4 separate regions of the Homo sapiens genome follow, and regions 1, 2 and 3 are each linked to region 4. Evidence: promoter capture Hi-C in 16 types of primary human blood cells and fetal thymus (Javierre and others, 2016). All regions are on one chromosome and are shown on one strand. Each heading gives the region's core, a stretch centred on a gene start or on the middle of the fragment in contact. The rest is flanking DNA. Distances are from core to core; before and after follow the strand shown. Region 1 has its middle 7.3 kb from the start of CD180. Region 2 overlaps MCCC2 (methylcrotonyl-CoA carboxylase subunit 2). Region 3 holds the start of MRPS27 (mitochondrial ribosomal protein S27). Region 4 holds the start of TAF9 (TATA-box binding protein associated factor 9).

Evidence for each region. Contacts are between HindIII fragments. The CHiCAGO score rates a contact against its expected background, and 5 or more counts as called.
Region 1: a fragment that was not itself captured here is called in contact with the fragment with the promoter of TAF9 in region 4 in 1 of 17 cell types (naive CD8 T cells); the score reaches 9.5 in naive CD8 T cells.
Region 2: a contact is called between a fragment that was not itself captured here and the fragment with the promoter of TAF9 in region 4, in 7 of 17 cell types (activated CD4 T cells, total CD4 T cells, non-activated CD4 T cells and 4 more). The highest score is 15.7, in activated CD4 T cells.
Region 3: a contact is called between the fragment with the promoter of MRPS27 here and the fragment with the promoter of TAF9 in region 4, in 3 of 17 cell types (total CD4 T cells, naive CD4 T cells and non-activated CD4 T cells). The highest score is 7.2, in total CD4 T cells.

The regions. Positions count from the first base shown.
Region 1 is chr5:67,202,483-67,205,748 of GRCh38, forward strand. No RefSeq gene overlaps it. Among named protein-coding and RNA genes, the nearest start is that of CD180, 7.3 kb to the left of the region's middle. The HindIII fragment of the contact is 3,432 bases long and covers 1-3,266 here.
Region 2 is chr5:71,591,183-71,594,345 of GRCh38, forward strand. It overlaps MCCC2 (methylcrotonyl-CoA carboxylase subunit 2), which reads left to right. Exons shown (of 17, transcript NM_022132.5): 2 at 1,744-1,810. Among named protein-coding and RNA genes, the nearest start is that of MCCC2, 5.4 kb to the left of the region's middle. The HindIII fragment of the contact is 540 bases long and covers 1,357-1,896 here.
Region 3 is chr5:72,318,588-72,321,516 of GRCh38, forward strand. MRPS27 (mitochondrial ribosomal protein S27) reads right to left here and starts at 1,653. Exons shown (of 11, transcript NM_015084.3): 1 at 1,562-1,653. The coding sequence starts at 1,634. It overlaps PTCD2 (pentatricopeptide repeat domain 2), which reads left to right and starts at 1,786. Exons shown (of 10, transcript NM_024754.5): 1 at 1,786-1,922. The coding sequence starts at 1,796. RefSeq lists enhancers at 704-1,245, 1,246-1,786, 1,385-1,714, 1,775-1,984. The HindIII fragment of the contact is 19,626 bases long and covers 1-2,929 here.
Region 4 is chr5:69,367,819-69,370,769 of GRCh38, forward strand. It overlaps TAF9 (TATA-box binding protein associated factor 9), which reads right to left and starts at 1,702. Exons shown (of 3, transcript NM_003187.5): 1 at 1,645-1,702. It overlaps AK6 (adenylate kinase 6), which reads right to left and starts at 1,702. Exons shown (of 5, transcript NM_016283.5): 1 at 1,645-1,702. The coding sequence starts at 1,672. RAD17 (RAD17 checkpoint clamp loader component) reads left to right here and starts at 2,000. Exons shown (of 19, transcript NM_133338.3): 1 at 2,000-2,115. RefSeq lists an enhancer at 2,254-2,803. The HindIII fragment of the contact is 4,867 bases long and covers 1-2,183 here.

The DNA.
Region 1 (3,266 bases), core at 450-2,949, 2.2 Mb before region 4:
AACCATAACATCAGTGCCGTTCACTAACTTCTCTTTCATCTGATGCATTTTTTGAAGGCAGAAATGTTAAAGGCATCCTTAGGGTTTTTCTCTCAAACTGTAAATGAATGTAATATTAACAGGAACTGAGATACAGGGACTAGAATGAGTACAGGGCTGGGAATTGGGATTCTGAGATAAACTCTCAACTCTGAAATAAAATAGTTTCAATAGTGGTGCATTGAAATCAGAAATTTTAAGCTAAAAATAAGTTTTAAAATAATCTAATCCAGCCCTGTCATTTTTTCATTAAGAATGTAAGTGAACAACCTATGAGTTTAACAGTCCCAAAAGTGGAGATTACTTATATTATTATTCAATTTACTTATATTATTATTTACTTTTAGCCCTTCAGGAACATTTTGCACACCCTGTCTTATGTCAGGCTTTTTACTGTGAGCATTGTATTAGATTAAATTTCCGCAGCCCTTTATAGTGAGCGTGGGAGGAAAGGATTGCCCAAGCTAGCTAAGAGGTAGGCAACAACTTCCGTAAATGGCAATGTGGCATCCTTCCTTCATTCTAGTGAACCTCAGAAATGTCCCATCAGTATGACTGGGAGCATTTGTTACAGGCAGGATGGGGTAAGGGAACCTTTTGTTTGTTCCTCTGCTCGATGTGCAGCCCTGTCTTCCTCTTGTGAGCAGGATTAGCAGCAGACAAGAGTTCAACAGCCTTCATGGGTTTCCATCTTCAGACACAGATACCTATTTGATCTTGGACATATCATTAGACTCTAAGTGTTTCAACTTCTTCTACAAAAGAGAAATACTGTCTCCCCTGCTTACCTCTGAAGGGTGCTTGTGAAAGAAAGGACTATAGAGAATAACCCATAAAGGACTATAAAGAATTATTTTTATTTTATGTATTAAAAAAATTTTTTTTCTGGCTGGGCATAGTAGCTCACGCCTGTAATCTCAGCACTTTGGGAGGCTGAAACAGGCAGATTGCCTGAGTTCAGGAGTCCCAGACCAGCCTGGGCACCATGGCAAAACCCTGTCTCTACAAAAAATACAAAAATCAGCCAGGTGTGGAGGCACATGCCTGTGGTCCCAGCTAGTTGAGGGGCTGAAGCAAGAGGATTGCCTGAGCCCAGGAGGTCGAGGCTGCAGTGAGCTGAGATCGCACCATGGTACTACAGCCTGAGTGACAGAGTGAGCCCGTGTCTCTAAAAAAAAATAAATTACAAAAATAGTAATTAAAAAAATATTTTTATAGGCAGAGTTCTCACTGTGTTCCAGACTGGTCTTGAACTCCTGGCCTCAAGTGATCCTCCTGCCTCAGCCTCTTGAGTAGCTGGCATTACAGGCATAAGCCACCATGCTTGGCAAGAATTACGTGTTATTTCTAGCATAAAGCATGCGTGAATGACCAGGCTGATTTATTGTCCATATTCAGTTTGTGGTTTTAAGGAGCAGCTCCTCAGGAGGCAAAGTAAAAGGAAGAGCAAAAATAAAATATATGTAGGTAATACAGACTATATGCCAGGTACTCTTGTAAACACTTGATGTGCATTATTTATCACATATAATTTCAGAACTACTTGTTGATGTAGGTCCTTTTTTTTTTTTTTTTTTTTTTTTTTTTTGAGACGGAGTCTTGCTCTGTCGCCCAGGCTGGAGTGCAGTGACACGATCTTGGCTCACTGCTAGCTCCACCTCCCGGGTTCACATGAGGTAGGTGCTATTTTTATCCCAAATCTATAGATGAGTGCACAAAGGTTAGAGTGGTTCAGAAATACATGCAAGTTCACAGGTCAGAAAGTGGAAGTTCCAGGGCTCCTAACTCTCTCTGTCTGATCCCAGACTCACTCTTGCTTCTCAAGAAATCCCCTGGCTTGTAGTGGAAAGAATCCCAGAACCCCAGCCATATGGCAGGAAATGTGTTCAGCGCGGACTTCTCAGGCGCTCAGGTTTGCCTTCAGGCCCTCCCAGTTTGCAGTCCTCTCTGGGGATTCTTTCTGGCACTTATCTGACAACCACATTTCATAGGATGGAGAGGGTATTTGGAAGAGATGTCAGCCTTAGAAATTTAATCAGCTGGGCCAAAAGCAATCAAGATGCCATCTGGACAGGCTCTGACTTCCTGCCCAGAAGATAAAGACATCTGGACTTAGTAAATGCCAAGGACATGCTGACTTGGTCCCCAGGCCCATGGGCCACTCCTCACTTCATGCAGCTGTATTTTCTTAATTGCACAGAATCTATGGGCTCTGAGCTACTGCCGGGACCACTGAGTGCCTATTGCTGTTGACCACCAAAGTAAACACTGCAAGCTGTAGTGACTTTCCAGTGCTAAGGAGATGGAGTGACTGCAAAGGCCACAGTAAATAGGACTCTTTAATGACAGGGCAGGAGGAGGCTGCCCCAGGCCCAATTTATTGCTGATACAGAGTCTCTGAATTAGGGCACATGATGACCGCTGATCGTTAAGTAGGGCTGTGAGGAAATGTTTGTACATATGAAGAAGCTAATTAAGGTGGCTTGCCAGATATGCATACTCAATCTCTGCTTATTGAGGCTTCTTCCTCCTGTGAGGGAGGCTCTCCCCAATCACATAAGATCTCCAGCAGTCATCCTGCATGTGAGTGCCCTGGGTAGAATATGAAGGGGCTCGGGGACGAGCTTGGGAACTAGAAGTAAATGGTTAAGATTCGGCAGAGGGTTTTTATTGTGGCAATATCTGAACATTTGCACATATTTTCTAAACATCTTTCTAGAGATGACTTGAGTCTCACATACGTGTTTCTATTTTAAAGCAGAGTTTGGATCCTTCCAATAAGTGCCCAAAGCCACCAAATTTGGTATAGCTGGGACTAAAATGCTTTGCTTTTCCCCAATAACTTCCCCAGAGAAAAGTGCTACTTGCTCTAAGTAGACTCGTGAGATTTCCATTTTATAAATAACACTGATCAAAACTATTGTAAATAGTTCTCTTTCAGCTCCTGCATGGCTGGAACATATGTAAGATTTTTAGGTTTTTGAGATTTGCTAGTTTGGGGCAATTTACATTTGGGAGTTTTAATTTCAAAATAATAAAAAATACCGAGTGTTTCCCAAGTTTTCGATTCTAGCCTAAGATCTGGAAACAACTATAATTTCTGACTTAAGAACAAAACCAAACCAGCCCCAGTCGCAGAAATCTATCACTTTATTATGTGGAGATTGATGGGGAGTTGGTCAAAACCTTGCTCAATCCCTGTGACCTCCGTGCTCAGGAAAACACAT
Region 2 (3,163 bases), core at 377-2,876, 2.2 Mb after region 4:
CAAACAGAAGGAACTAAATAACTAGAGATGCTAATCACATGGGGAGCAAAATGTATTAGTGGGCCAAGTCTGAATTTCAAAGATAATTAGCTAGTTAAGTATTGTTCTAAAGTAATATGCTGACCAAACAAAATTTAAAAATACAGAAGGGTGAAAAGTTAGTCCCTCTACCTCTTTTCTACTTCTCACTGTCAATATTTCCTTGTGTATTACTTAATTTGTGTATATATGCCAGCATAGAGTTTTGTTCTGTTTTTTTTTTTTTTTTTTTGAGATGGAGTTTTGCTCTTGTTGCCCAGGCTGGAGTGCAATGATGCAATCTTGGCTCACTGCAACCTCCGCCTCCCGGGTTCGAGGGATTCTCCTGCCTCAGCCTCCCGAGTAGCTGGGATTACAGGCAAGCACCACCTTGCCTGGCTAATTTTGTATTTTTTAGTAGAGACGAGTTTTCTCCATGTTGGTCAGGCTGGTCTCGAACTCCCGACCGTAGGTGATCTGCCCGCCTCGGCCTCCCAAAGTGCTGAGATTACAGGCGTGAGCCACCACGGCTGGCCGAGTTTTGTTCTTTTTACTAATTTATTTATTTATTTGAAACAGTCTTGCTCTGTCACCCAGGCTGGAGTACAATGGCACGATCCTAGTTCACTGCAGCTTCAAACTCCTGGGCTCAAGAGATCCTTCCACCTTAGTTGGTCAAGTCGCTGGGACACACCACCATGCCCAGATAATTTTTAAATTTTTATTCTTTTTATTTTTATTCTTTTTGTAAAGATGGAAGTCTCCCTATGTTACTCAGGCTGGTCTCAAACTCCTGGGCTTAAGCGATGCTCCTGCCTCCGCCTTCCAAAGCTCTGGGATAACAGACATAAGCCACCACACTCAGCCTGTTCTTTTTAAAACATAAAATAGGATCCTTGGCCAGGTGCGGTGGCTCATGCCTGTAATCCCAGCACTTTGGGAGGCCGAGATGGGCAAATCACTTGAGGTAAGGAGTTTGAGATCAGCCTGGCCAACATGGCGAAACCCGGTCTCTATTAAAAATACAATAATTAGCTGGGCATGGTGGCACACACCTGTAGTCCCAGCTACTTAGGAGGCTGAGGCAGGAGAATCGCTTGATCTCGGGAGGCGGAGGTTGCAGTGAGCCGAGATTGCACCATTGCACTCCAGCCGGGGCAACAAAGGGAGACTCTGTCCCAAAAAATAAAAATACAAAATTAAAAATAAAAATAAGATCCTTTTTCTCCCTCTGGGATTTGTTTTTAAGTGTACTTTGTCAGTAAGCAAGCATTGGTTGGAATCTCAGATAGTGACTGATGGGACAGGAAAAATAAGATGGTATTCTAACCTTCAAAAAGCTTATATTCCTTAAAATAGGAAAACAAATAGAGATCAGTTTAAGTTCAGAAGGTGTTTAAGGAAGAAAGATGTTAAATTGAGTAGGAGTGGCCAGAAGTAGAGTTGAAGATGAGATAAAACATGAATTAGGCTTACAGAGGAGTAAGATATGGAGAGATGGACAAGTGGGGTGGTGAAGAAGAGCTTGAACAAGACAGGCAGGGGTGAATCTTTTCCATACGATCCAGTGGCCCAGCGTGGCTGCCACAGATGGGGTGGCCCAGTGTGGCGGCCACACAGAGTTGGCACAGACCACTGTTTTTTTTTTTTTTTTGACCTTTATTTTGGTAAAAAGGAATTGCTTTCTAATATTTCTCTCCCCTGTCTCCTCTATTTCTGTTTTAGGAGAACTACAAGCAGATGAAAGCACTAGTAAATCAGCTCCATGAACGAGTGGAGCATATAAAACTAGGTAAACACAGCATTTATTCCACAGCTTATGCCTTTACTTAAGATGTCCTAAAATAGTTATTGCTTTTAGGAAAAATACTGGAATTAAGCTTTTGATATTTTTTTTTTTTTTTTGAGATGGAGTCTTGCTCTCTTGCCCAGGCTGGAGTGCAGTGGCGCCATCTCAGCTCACTGCAACCTCCGCCTCCTGGGTTCAAGCCATTCTCCTGCCTCAGCCTCCCAAGTTGTTGGGATTACAGGTGCCTGCCTCCATGCCTGTCTAATTTTTGTATTTTTTAAATAGAGACAAGGTTTCACCATGTTGGCCAGGCTGGTCTTGAACTACTGATGTCAAGTGATCCATCTGCCTTGGCCTCCCAAAGTGCTGCAATTATAGGCGTGAGCCACTACTCCTGGCTGAGCTTTTGACTCTTAAGACTATGCATTTGTTGGTATGCAGGCATTTAATTTTATTTTTCCTATTACTTGGCCAGTTTTTCTCTTCATAGAGTACTACCACTTTTGGGGGGAAAAGTAAAGATTCAAATTCATAAATTTTATGAATAAATAATTTATTTTTAATTTTTATTAATTTTTTTTTTAAGAGATGGGTTCTTGCTCTATTGCCAGGCTGGACTGAACCCCTGGCTCAAGCGATCCTCTCATCTTGGCCTCCCAAAGTGCTGGGATTACAGGTATGAGCCACCACACCTGGCCAGTGATTTCTTAGTAGGCATTTAATATTTCCTCCCTAAGTGCTGAATCTCAGATGGAAAGCATTCTTCATATTTGATAGACTGTTTCAGATAACTTTTATCAACAAGTATATAATACTTAAAATTGTATATAATACTTTTAATGTAAAATTTTACATTTAGGTTAGAGTAGTTTAAATACTGGATCTCAGGAGTATAAAAATAGTGAAGAAGACTGGATTTGGAAAGTATGGTCTAGAATTGCTTATTTACTAGTTTATTTAGAGACAGGGTCTCCTCACTCTGTTGCTCGGGCTGGACTCGAAGTCGGGAGCTCAAGTGATCTTCTTGCCTCAGCCTCCCAAGTAGCTGAGACTGTACCTGTGCCCCTGTACGCAGCTATGGAATTCATACTTTTGAAGCCATTTTAGATCAAGGTGTTGTCTCCAGAAAAAGAATTCAAACTCTTGCTGAAATGAAAGTGTTTTGTTAGGGGTGATAACTCAATTGTTATGCCCATTTTGAGAGTTTGATTTGGTGAACTCACTGTCCCCCTTAGACATTAAGATGGTGGGTTTTGGGGCCAGGCACAGTGGCTCACGCCTGTAATCCCAGCACTTTGGGAGGCCGAGGTGGGCGGATCACATGAAGTCAGGAGTTCGAGACCAGACTGAGCAACA
Region 3 (2,929 bases), core at 403-2,902, 3.0 Mb after region 4:
AGTTAGAGACCAGCCTGACCAACATGGAGAAACCCCGTCTCTACTGAAAATACAAAATTAGCCGGGAGTGGTGGCGCATGCCTGTAATCTCAGCTACTCGGGAGGCTGAGGCAGGAGAATCACTTGAACCCGGGAGGCAGAGGCTGCAGTAAGCCGAGATCGTGCCATTGCACTCTAACCTGGGCAACAAGAACGAAACCCGAAAAAAAAAAAAAAGGCTGGGGAGGTGATTGTGGGGAAAGACAGGTCTCCCAAAATGCCCTCTGTGTGTAGTTGTTCACGGAAACCACATAAACAGAAAATAGCTACAACAGCTAATTCTTACTAAGGTGTCAAGCGTTGTGCATAACACTGCCTAATGTGTGACATTAAACGTTTTCACCAGGTCAGCCACTTAATCTTCAGAAAACTGGTGGCCAACTCTGAGGTTTCACATTGACGTTTAATGGCTGTTCCTAAAGAAGTGCGTGCTTTTTAAAAAAATAGAGGATGGGAGGTAGGTTGGAAAGGGAAGATAAGCGGCAATGGAAAAATCGAGTGTGATTATTGCATTTTTATCAAATATGTCTGTCTGGATTATGTGGTTAGAATCACTGCAAATTTGGCTTCTATAAATACTTTAAAACTTTTTTCCAATGTTTTCATTATCAGATCCACTATGCAGGCTTTGAGTGGGCTGCCATTTAGTTCAGATATCAAAGTATTTTACAAGTAACTAATAGCATTTATTATCTACACGTGGAAAACTATAGCAAAGAAAGGTCAATCAAAAGTTGTGCTCTAGGTCATCAGATAAAATGAGATTAATACTGAAAAATTCTTCCACGAAGACCAGGGGTCCAGCTAAATGTGTGGTGGTGGGAAAAATGTTTATCTGACGTCCCTCTAAAGAAACCTCAGATGGGAGAAAAATGTCCCAGCCCCAGGAATGGACACATTTAGGTTTTTCCTTTTTTTTTTTTTTTTTTTTTTTTGAGACAGGGTCTCGCTCTGTTGCCCAGGCTGGAGTGTAGTGGCGCGATCTCTGCTCACTGCAACCTCCGCCTCCCGAGTTCAAGCGATTATCCTGCCTCAGCCCCCCGAGTAGCTGGGATTACAGGCGCGCGCCACCAGGCCCAGATAATTTCTTTGTATTTTTTAGTAGAGATGGGGTTTCGCCCTGTTGGCCAGGCTGGTCTCGAACTCCTGGCGATCCGCCCGCCTCGCGTTCCCAAAGTGCTGGGACCACAGGCGTGGGCCACCGCGCCCGGCGCACATTTGGGTTTTTCGTGGTCAGCAAAAGCACGACCACCCCAACACATAAATCTGGCGAATCATACGCAAATTCCCTCATGCTATATAACCTTCCACTGCTCTTCGTACCTTTGGACAGGAACATACTGTTATTTTAGGGAAGGAAATGGATCAGATACCTTGTCTCCTTCTTCTGCACTACCAAACACCCCAAATGGCGTCCCTAGCAATCAGATTCCAGAAACGTTTCCTCTCCTCTTGAAAGCCCACCGCTCCCTTCACCCAAAAAACAGAATAATCAGGGGCCTAATGAAGCTGTCCGGCCAACCTGCAGGAGAGAGCTGAGGAAGAACCACTTGCCGCGCCAGGAGCATCCCGCGCCGCACTATGGAGGCAGCCATCTTGGAGCGTACCAAAAGGAACAGCCAACGGGTTACGGACAGAGGAAGGGGCGGGGTTACAGCTCGACCTCTCGGGGCGCCCAGAATTGGACGAATCCCTTTTGTCGCTCTCGACGACAGGACCGACGCTCCGCCTCCTCGCCCCGGTTCCAGTAGTTGGTATGGTCCGAGACAGTATGGCTGCTGCATTTCGGCCCTCGAATCGAGTTCTCCTGCAGGCGCTGCAGATTTTGGTGTATCCTGGGGTGGGAGGCTCCGGCTCTGTCAGCTGCCGCTGCCCTCTCGGAGGTATCCGCGGCTTTAGCCTAGGGAAGGAGGGGAGGGATGGGAGAGAAGGGAGTGTTAGATCCCAGCTAGCATCTCTGTGGAGCAGCCACAGCTCCTAAGTCACTCACTGGCCTGGAGCGCACCCTCGCCCTCTAGTTGCACGTGGGTGCAGTGGTGACCACTGGGGGTCGTGGATACCCCCAGTGCCTGCAAATCGAAGGACTGCTGGGGTATTGACCTTGGGGCTGTAGTGCTCCCTCAGATGGGGCGACGTTCGTCTTCAGGAACATCCCTCCCGCCTTGGGTGACTTTTATTTATTTATTTATTTATTTTTGAGACGAAGTCTTGCTCTGTCGCCCAAGCTGGAGTGCGGTGGCGCGATCTCGGCTCACTGCAGCCTCCGCCTCCCGGGTTCAAGCGATTCTCCTGCCTCAGCTTTCCGAGTAGTTGGGACTACAGGCGTGCGCCACCACGCCCGGGTAATTTTTTGTATTTTTAGTAGAGACGGGTTTCACTATGTTGGCCAGGCTGGTTTCGAACTCCTGACCTCGTGGTCCACCCGCCTCGGCCTCCCAAAGTGCTGGGATTATAGGAGTGAGCCACCGCGCCCGGCCTTTTTCTTTTCTGCAGAGTTTGGAAGCAGAGGTCTTATGGAGTCTCAGTTCTGCTAACAATCTAAAAGACTTAACGGCACGTTTCTTCATTTTTCAAAACTATCCTCTAACATCTCTATGAAGAGAGTTAAATCTGAAGATGCTAGTGAGTGATAGTAAAAATGTTTGTCAGGCATTACTTTAATGTAGTTTACATACATTAATTCCTTTTCTCTAGACAACACCCAGCAAGAGAAGTACCATTCTTTTCTCCATTTACAGAGGAGGAACAAGGTTAAGTAATTTGCCCAAAGTCAGAGGGAACTGTTAGAGGTGGGATTTGAACACACCCAACAATAGAAACCTGCTCCTAACCACTTCACTGGACTGCCTTTCTGTAAATAAATAGCAACTTTTATTGTTACCTTGTTACT
Region 4 (2,951 bases), core at 452-2,951:
TACAGGCATGAGCCACCCACCTGGCCTATTTGCTTTAACTTATAAAGATTTAAAAACTGTTCATGGCCACGTGTGGTGGCTCGCGCGTGTAATCCCAGCAATTTGGGAGGAGAAGGCGGGAGGATCGCTTAAGCGCAGGAGTTCGAGACCAGCCTGGCCAACATAATGAGACTCTGTCTCAAACAAAAACAAAAACAAGAACAAAAACAAAACTGTTCATGTTAAAATTAAGCAGTCTGAAAATTACCTCTACTGACCCCTTGCGCCCTTCCCTAGAGATAACCACTGTAAACCAGTTTCCTTTCCCAAAGAAACCCTATTTATGTTTGCATGTAAATGTACATATATGTACATACTCTTTGTTATATAAATACAACACATATTCCCTTTTACATAAATGACAATACTATATACATTGTTCTTTACCTTCCCCTTCTGATACCTATTAAAATTACATTTCAAGATCATCAAATTCATAATTTTCAGCTATTCAGATTTAACATCCCTGAAATTAAACTTAAGCATAAAGATAACAGGGATAATCCAGTTCCCATACCCAGGAGAATAACGGTCACCTCAAGTCCACTATAATACACCAAGTCTGAACCCTGGACTCAACATGTTTTCAATAAAATGTTCACTTTAAAGTTTTGACAATGACTTAATAACCAGGGCACTATGTTTGATCCATGCAAAAAGATGTAAAATCTTCCGCTTAAGGAATCTAAAATTCTAAACGTTATTTGTGGGGTGGTTAATCTGCACCTCTCAGAAACAGACATGTCTTGTGCGCTGCCAACAATTTTACCTTTGGGTGAATGATGTAACTTTACTGTTCCCACAAAGAGTCTTAATTTTTCTGTACCTTGCAATAAAATCTACATGCATTAGATTTTTCCACGAATGGCCTACAATTTGATAAACACTTTCAGGACTAAACGGCTAGCAAAAATATTCGTTAAAGTCGTTATGCAGCATTTTAATTCCCTTCACTGATAACATGCACCCTGAGTATGGCTTCAAAGACCCACTCCTACGCGAGAAACGACCCGAAATGCTCTATATGCCTTCCTTTTAAGGGGCGGGGGGATCCTTTGATGTAACTCAACAAAAGCATACAGCAATTTCGTCACGTCACAAACATCTGAACTCGTTTACCGAAATCTAATCTGAGGCGTTTATCAGAAGCAAAGAAAAAATAAAATACGGCCCACGGAGGCCTAAGGAGTGAGGCATCCACCATTAATGACTCTACCGGGAAGCAGATATGGCCTTACGTTATTTCGCTAAAAATCCCAAGGCCAACCCTGCCAAAGAATCAACAACCCATTTTACAAACGAAATACCAGATTCAGAAAGACTAAGCAGGTTGCCAAGCTGGAGAGCTGGATCTGCCGACCTCTCTCCACCCCCCCCCGCCCCCCCCCGGAGCCTCAGGCCAACGGAATTAACGTTCCGCGTCCCCTCCCTCGCCTCCCGCAACGCCCGCGAGGGTCGGCTCCCGGGGCGCTGACAACCGCCTCGTGGCCCTCGGCCGGCCTCTGAAGAGGGCAGTGAGGGGCCCCCACCTGGGCGCCCGATGCCCAGAGCACTCTGCGCCCCCAGCCTGCCCCAGCCCAGTCCCTCCCGGCCGCGCGCCCTGACCGGTGAGCAGGATGTTCGGAAGCAACATGGTCCCCGCCGCGACGGCTTCGGGCGCCTCGCTCACGTGCCCTTTGCTCTACAGGGAGGAGCCGGAAGGGGCGGGCGGCAGCAAAAGCCCACGGCCCCAAAGGCCCCGAAGCCCACCGCGGCGCCCCTAGCCTGCCCCGGCGGCCCAGCCGCGGCCCACTGGTTACCTGGCTTTCGATGACACATTTCCGTCGCAAAGTTGGAGGGTGGGCATAACTCGGGTCGGTACTTCGGGTCAGGCAGTGCGCTGGATGCCTAAGTCACACACTCCTTCGGTGGTCCCCGCCCTTCGCTTGCGCCGACCAGTCTGGAAGGTCCCCGGGAGGCCGTACCTCCGAGAGGCTCGGCGTTGAGCCCGGGTAGGGCCAGGTGGCTGCCCTTTCACCTAGGGTAGTCCCTGGTCGCCTCCGCTCTTCGCCTAAAAGGGGATGCAGCTCCGGGAAAGTAAGGCCGCCGCGGTTGCGGCTATATTATGTATATGTCTTAGAGACGTGAGTCTATCTCTGCCTTCAAGCTTTCCTGGGCTCTCGTCGCTCCTCCTCCCGACCCGCCCATCCCATCTGGGGATGAGAAGATTGAGGGTGCAGAGCCCTGTCCTGCAGCGGGGATTTGCGAGCTCAACCCGGCACCCCACTGATTACAGGATTACGTTGGACGAATATTTGAGCTTAGTATTCCCTGTTCACTGTGTGGGGTGGTGGTGGGTCGGCTAGGAATAGTCTTGAAGGTCTACCTCTGACATCTCATTTCAGTAACCTCGCATCTTCAGGGACAGTTATCTGCTTTTTAAAGGAGGTAATTGTCAATCTTGTTTTCAAGAGTGAATAGAGACCTGACCGTGACAACAGTCTGCACCTTTTTTTGTTTGTTTGTTTGTTTTTGTTTTGTTTTGAGACGGAGTCTCACTCTTGTCGCCCAGGCTGGAGTGCAACCTCCGCCTCCTGGGTTCAAGTGATTCTCCTGCCTTAGCCTCCAGAGTAGCTGGGATTACAGGCGCCCACCACCACGCCCGGCTAATTTTTGCATTTTTAATAGAGACGGGGTTTCACCATGTTTTGGCCAGGCTGGTCTCAAACTCCTGACCTCAGATGATCCGCCCGCCTCGTCCTCCCACGGTGCTGGGATTACAGGCATGAGCCACCGCGTCCGGCCCCTGGTCTGCATCTTTTATTTCGAGCTACAAACTATATTTACTCAAATAGGTGTTTTTTTTCCACCTGTATACCTTTTGAAACGTCACAGTCTCTAATCGTGAACGATTTGGGGCGGAGGGCTGAACA